Regions from separate parts of the Homo sapiens genome. Here region 1 is linked to region 2. The links are contacts of gene promoters, found by promoter capture Hi-C in blood cells and fetal thymus (Javierre and others, 2016). All regions are on one chromosome and are shown on one strand. Each heading gives the region's core, a stretch centred on a gene start or on the middle of the fragment in contact. The rest is flanking DNA. Distances are from core to core; before and after follow the strand shown. Region 1 holds the start of TERT (telomerase reverse transcriptase). Region 2 holds the start of CLPTM1L (CLPTM1 like).

Region 1 (3,043 bases), core at 544-3,043, 50 kb after region 2:
TGCCCAGCTCAGAATTTACTCTGTTTAGAAACATCTGGGTCTGAGGTAGGAAGCTCACCCCACTCAAGTGTTGTGGTGTTTTAAGCCAATGATAGAATTTTTTTATTGTTGTTAGAACACTCTTGATGTTTTACACTGTGATGACTAAGACATCATCAGCTTTTCAAAGACACACTAACTGCACCCATAATACTGGGGTGTCTTCTGGGTATCAGCGATCTTCATTGAATGCCGGGAGGCGTTTCCTCGCCATGCACATGGTGTTAATTACTCCAGCATAATCTTCTGCTTCCATTTCTTCTCTTCCCTCTTTTAAAATTGTGTTTTCTATGTTGGCTTCTCTGCAGAGAACCAGTGTAAGCTACAACTTAACTTTTGTTGGAACAAATTTTCCAAACCGCCCCTTTGCCCTAGTGGCAGAGACAATTCACAAACACAGCCCTTTAAAAAGGCTTAGGGATCACTAAGGGGATTTCTAGAAGAGCGACCTGTAATCCTAAGTATTTACAAGACGAGGCTAACCTCCAGCGAGCGTGACAGCCCAGGGAGGGTGCGAGGCCTGTTCAAATGCTAGCTCCATAAATAAAGCAATTTCCTCCGGCAGTTTCTGAAAGTAGGAAAGGTTACATTTAAGGTTGCGTTTGTTAGCATTTCAGTGTTTGCCGACCTCAGCTACAGCATCCCTGCAAGGCCTCGGGAGACCCAGAAGTTTCTCGCCCCTTAGATCCAAACTTGAGCAACCCGGAGTCTGGATTCCTGGGAAGTCCTCAGCTGTCCTGCGGTTGTGCCGGGGCCCCAGGTCTGGAGGGGACCAGTGGCCGTGTGGCTTCTACTGCTGGGCTGGAAGTCGGGCCTCCTAGCTCTGCAGTCCGAGGCTTGGAGCCAGGTGCCTGGACCCCGAGGTTGCCCTCCACCCTGTGCGGGCGGGATGTGACCAGATGTTGGCCTCATCTGCCAGACAGAGTGCCGGGGCCCAGGGTCAAGGCCGTTGTGGCTGGTGTGAGGCGCCCGGTGCGCGGCCAGCAGGAGCGCCTGGCTCCATTTCCCACCCTTTCTCGACGGGACCGCCCCGGTGGGTGATTAACAGATTTGGGGTGGTTTGCTCATGGTGGGGACCCCTCGCCGCCTGAGAACCTGCAAAGAGAAATGACGGGCCTGTGTCAAGGAGCCCAAGTCGCGGGGAAGTGTTGCAGGGAGGCACTCCGGGAGGTCCCGCGTGCCCGTCCAGGGAGCAATGCGTCCTCGGGTTCGTCCCCAGCCGCGTCTACGCGCCTCCGTCCTCCCCTTCACGTCCGGCATTCGTGGTGCCCGGAGCCCGACGCCCCGCGTCCGGACCTGGAGGCAGCCCTGGGTCTCCGGATCAGGCCAGCGGCCAAAGGGTCGCCGCACGCACCTGTTCCCAGGGCCTCCACATCATGGCCCCTCCCTCGGGTTACCCCACAGCCTAGGCCGATTCGACCTCTCTCCGCTGGGGCCCTCGCTGGCGTCCCTGCACCCTGGGAGCGCGAGCGGCGCGCGGGCGGGGAAGCGCGGCCCAGACCCCCGGGTCCGCCCGGAGCAGCTGCGCTGTCGGGGCCAGGCCGGGCTCCCAGTGGATTCGCGGGCACAGACGCCCAGGACCGCGCTTCCCACGTGGCGGAGGGACTGGGGACCCGGGCACCCGTCCTGCCCCTTCACCTTCCAGCTCCGCCTCCTCCGCGCGGACCCCGCCCCGTCCCGACCCCTCCCGGGTCCCCGGCCCAGCCCCCTCCGGGCCCTCCCAGCCCCTCCCCTTCCTTTCCGCGGCCCCGCCCTCTCCTCGCGGCGCGAGTTTCAGGCAGCGCTGCGTCCTGCTGCGCACGTGGGAAGCCCTGGCCCCGGCCACCCCCGCGATGCCGCGCGCTCCCCGCTGCCGAGCCGTGCGCTCCCTGCTGCGCAGCCACTACCGCGAGGTGCTGCCGCTGGCCACGTTCGTGCGGCGCCTGGGGCCCCAGGGCTGGCGGCTGGTGCAGCGCGGGGACCCGGCGGCTTTCCGCGCGCTGGTGGCCCAGTGCCTGGTGTGCGTGCCCTGGGACGCACGGCCGCCCCCCGCCGCCCCCTCCTTCCGCCAGGTGGGCCTCCCCGGGGTCGGCGTCCGGCTGGGGTTGAGGGCGGCCGGGGGGAACCAGCGACATGCGGAGAGCAGCGCAGGCGACTCAGGGCGCTTCCCCCGCAGGTGTCCTGCCTGAAGGAGCTGGTGGCCCGAGTGCTGCAGAGGCTGTGCGAGCGCGGCGCGAAGAACGTGCTGGCCTTCGGCTTCGCGCTGCTGGACGGGGCCCGCGGGGGCCCCCCCGAGGCCTTCACCACCAGCGTGCGCAGCTACCTGCCCAACACGGTGACCGACGCACTGCGGGGGAGCGGGGCGTGGGGGCTGCTGCTGCGCCGCGTGGGCGACGACGTGCTGGTTCACCTGCTGGCACGCTGCGCGCTCTTTGTGCTGGTGGCTCCCAGCTGCGCCTACCAGGTGTGCGGGCCGCCGCTGTACCAGCTCGGCGCTGCCACTCAGGCCCGGCCCCCGCCACACGCTAGTGGACCCCGAAGGCGTCTGGGATGCGAACGGGCCTGGAACCATAGCGTCAGGGAGGCCGGGGTCCCCCTGGGCCTGCCAGCCCCGGGTGCGAGGAGGCGCGGGGGCAGTGCCAGCCGAAGTCTGCCGTTGCCCAAGAGGCCCAGGCGTGGCGCTGCCCCTGAGCCGGAGCGGACGCCCGTTGGGCAGGGGTCCTGGGCCCACCCGGGCAGGACGCGTGGACCGAGTGACCGTGGTTTCTGTGTGGTGTCACCTGCCAGACCCGCCGAAGAAGCCACCTCTTTGGAGGGTGCGCTCTCTGGCACGCGCCACTCCCACCCATCCGTGGGCCGCCAGCACCACGCGGGCCCCCCATCCACATCGCGGCCACCACGTCCCTGGGACACGCCTTGTCCCCCGGTGTACGCCGAGACCAAGCACTTCCTCTACTCCTCAGGCGACAAGGAGCAGCTGCGGCCCTCCTTCCTACTCAGCTCTCTGAGGCCCAGCCTGACTGGC
Region 2 (2,875 bases), core at 72-2,571:
TGTGGGACGCCTGGCCCTGTAGGGGACCCCAAGAGTGGCTGGAGAGCAGGGCGTGATGCCTCTTGGGCCACCCTGCAAAGGGCTCACGAGCCTCCTGAGGAGGATGCATTTGATCAGGGTAACAGGAGTCAGCAGAGGGCTTTCCAAGGACAGGTTTGCCAAGAAGCGAGAACAGACTGAGGGGGGAACGATAGAGGCACTGGGTGTAGTCAGACACCACTGCAATGGTAGCCGAAAACCGCGCCGTGAGAAGACTCTGTGGGGAGGGTAACTAGGTGCATGAGAGTGAGAGGAGCGAAAAAAGCCTCGGATGGCTCCGAAGCTCCTGGCCCAGCTTCCAGGGGTTGGTGGCCCAGGACCGCCCCTGCACGCGGCCTCGGGTGCCTGCTCCAGGCAGACCTGCTTCTCTGGCCCATTCTCGGCACCAATCACTGTCCCATCCGCCCGTCAGCCAAGTCCTCTGAGTTCTTCCCGGAGCCCAGCACCCTGATGCAATTGTCCCTGCTCTGAAAACCCTCAGCAATCTATTGGGTCTTCAGTAGCATCTACTCTTTCTAGAAATGTCGAACAAGGTTTTTCGATTGTGCTGCACGTGTGGCAGACACAGAAACGGAAACGACCTTCCAGAGAACTGGCCAAAGGACGGGAGCTGCTCCAGTAACTGAAGGGCACAGACTGAGCGCTTCTGATGGAGTCGGGGAGGTCGCCGGCCCATCCACCGGCTGCCCGAGGGCCTCCCACTGACCTCCCCCGGCCGCCCTCCGAGGGGCCTCTGCTGACCTCGCCGTGCTGGGCACGCTCGGCTTTAGCGGGAAGCTGGGGGTCAGGTTCAAGGCTGTGAGGAGCCACTTCAGCCCGGGAATCTGAATTTTTTCTTCAAAAGCGCCTGTCCCCACAATGGGTTTGTACTGGGGAAAAAACCCACACACGGGATGAGGTGCCCGGCTTCTGTGAGGGTTCTGAGCACTTCGTTTTTCTTCCCTTTAGATTCTGACAACTGTGGACTAAAAGGGTTGCAGGCCCAGTGCCGGAATTCCAGTATCACCTTCCACCAGGCTCCTCACACGTCGACATGGCCCCCACTTGGTGGTCTGGCAGGCGTCGGCGGTTGGGGACGGCGCCCCGGGGACCCCGCGGCCCTAGCCTTCCCCGGCGCCCCGCGAACGCCCTCCGCGGCCCCAGCAGCTGAGCGCCTGGGTCCCTGAGAGGCACCCCAGGAGGGCGGCGCGGGCGGGTAACGTCACACACGCGCCGCATCCTGGATGCGCGTGCGCGGCAGCGGCCGAGACTCCGTTTCCCAGGGAGCCGCGCGGCGCGTCCACTTCCGGCAGGCGGCGGGGCCCGGAAGCGGCGCGCGGGGCCGGCGAATCCCGCGGCGCCAGGTGGGAGCGGGGCCGGAGCATGCGGGGCGGCCGGCGGTCTGCGGCGCGCGGCGCATTCGTTCCCCCGCGGCGGTGGCGGTGGCGCGCGGCGGCTCTCCAGTGAGCGGCGGAGCCCGGAGCGGCGGGCTGGGCGCCGGGCGGGCGGGGCTCGCGGCTGAGAGGCGGGCGGGCCGGGGGCGCCGGGCGCGGGGCCGCCATGTGGAGCGGCCGCAGCTCCTTCACCAGCTTGGTGGTGGGCGTGTTCGTGGTCTACGTGGTGCACACCTGCTGGGTCATGTACGGCATCGTCTACACCCGCCCGTGCTCCGGCGACGCCAACTGCATCCAGCCCTACCTGGCGCGGCGGCCCAAGCTGCAGGTGAGCGTCCGCGGGGCCGGGGGCCGGGCGGGTTGGGGTGGGGGCCTCTCCTCCAGGCCCCAGACGTCGCCTTCCCGTCCCAGTTCGGAGCTGTGGCCGCGCGAGTCGAGATGGAACCTTTCCTGGTTCCCCAGCGGCCAGGTCTTCCGCCCTCCAGCTGGCCGTGGGATTTGAGTGCGTCCTGCCAGGGCCTGGCCGAGCTGACTCTCGACGCCCCCTCCTTTCCAGCTGAGCGTGTACACCACGACGAGGTCCCACCTGGGTGCTGAGAACAACATCGACCTGGTCTTGAATGTGGAAGACTTTGATGTGGAGTCCAAATTTGAAAGGTATGGGCGTAGGACAAAATGCCAGTGAAAGGGAAAACATTACTCATGTTCAGATTGTTTAAAAGTTAGCTTTCTGTACATAACATGTTTATTTTAGAGAACTAGTCTTACCGAATGTCTTGAAGTGGTAGAATATCCTAACTGGAGGCCTATGCGTGGCCTGTAAACATTCAGCCTGGAAGGTGACAGGTGATGAATGTCGTTTAAGAAGTAGTTCTCAGCAGAGTGTGATGGCAGTGGGATGTCCTGGACGGGGAGGCTCCGAAGGAGCAGGGGCCACGCTTGGTGAACCAGTGGAGAGCAGACAACTCTGCAGTTTCACTACCGGGGACCAACTTGTCTTTTCCTGGTGGAAGTAGTTCGCTTAAGTTACTTGTGAGGGAAAAGAGATGAGGATAGAGGAAGCAATTTTGTAGAAAATCATAAATAAGTGACATGTGACGTTAGAATAGATCAATGTCCAAATATGTAGAGTATCTTAAAAATTACATCTGACATGGCCTAATTTTTTTTAATTGAATAAGTATACTTTTAAATATGATTTGCTTCTCACAAGTCAACCATTTCCCTTCATTGCCTGGGAGGTATCTGAGGAGAGAATAATGAAAGTTTGAGACTCATGCTGGACTCCACGCCCTCTAGGCAGCCAGTCCCTGGGGGTAGCTGGAGGCGCTGGCAAGCCGGTTTCTGCCTGGCCTCTTTAGGCCTGTGACCTCAAGCCAGTTCCTGCCCTCTCTCTGCCTCCATGAAGGGGAGGCCAGAAGTGCTGGTGACCAAGCTGCCCGCTCGGTTGTAGCTGCCCACAC

What was found. Contacts are between HindIII fragments. The CHiCAGO score rates a contact against its expected background, and 5 or more counts as called.
Region 1: a contact is called between the fragment with the promoter of TERT here and the fragment with the promoter of CLPTM1L in region 2, in 2 of 17 cell types (naive CD4 T cells and erythroblasts). The highest score is 6.1, in naive CD4 T cells.

Annotation. Positions count from the first base shown.
Region 1 is chr5:1,293,818-1,296,860 of GRCh38, reverse strand. It overlaps TERT (telomerase reverse transcriptase), which reads left to right and starts at 1,793. Exons shown (of 16, transcript NM_198253.3): 1 at 1,793-2,090; 2 at 2,195-3,043. The coding sequence starts at 1,872. RefSeq lists silencers at 1,447-1,536, 1,637-1,706, cis regulatory regions at 1,739-1,747, 1,759-1,767, 1,837-1,869, 1,872-2,228, enhancers at 1,116-1,832, 1,803-1,845 and promoters at 1,542-2,233, 1-2,233. The HindIII fragment of the contact is 13,041 bases long and covers 1-3,043 here.
Region 2 is chr5:1,343,545-1,346,419 of GRCh38, reverse strand. CLPTM1L (CLPTM1 like) reads left to right here and starts at 1,321. Exons shown (of 17, transcript NM_030782.5): 1 at 1,321-1,740; 2 at 1,969-2,069. The coding sequence starts at 1,579. The HindIII fragment of the contact is 23,624 bases long and covers 1-2,875 here.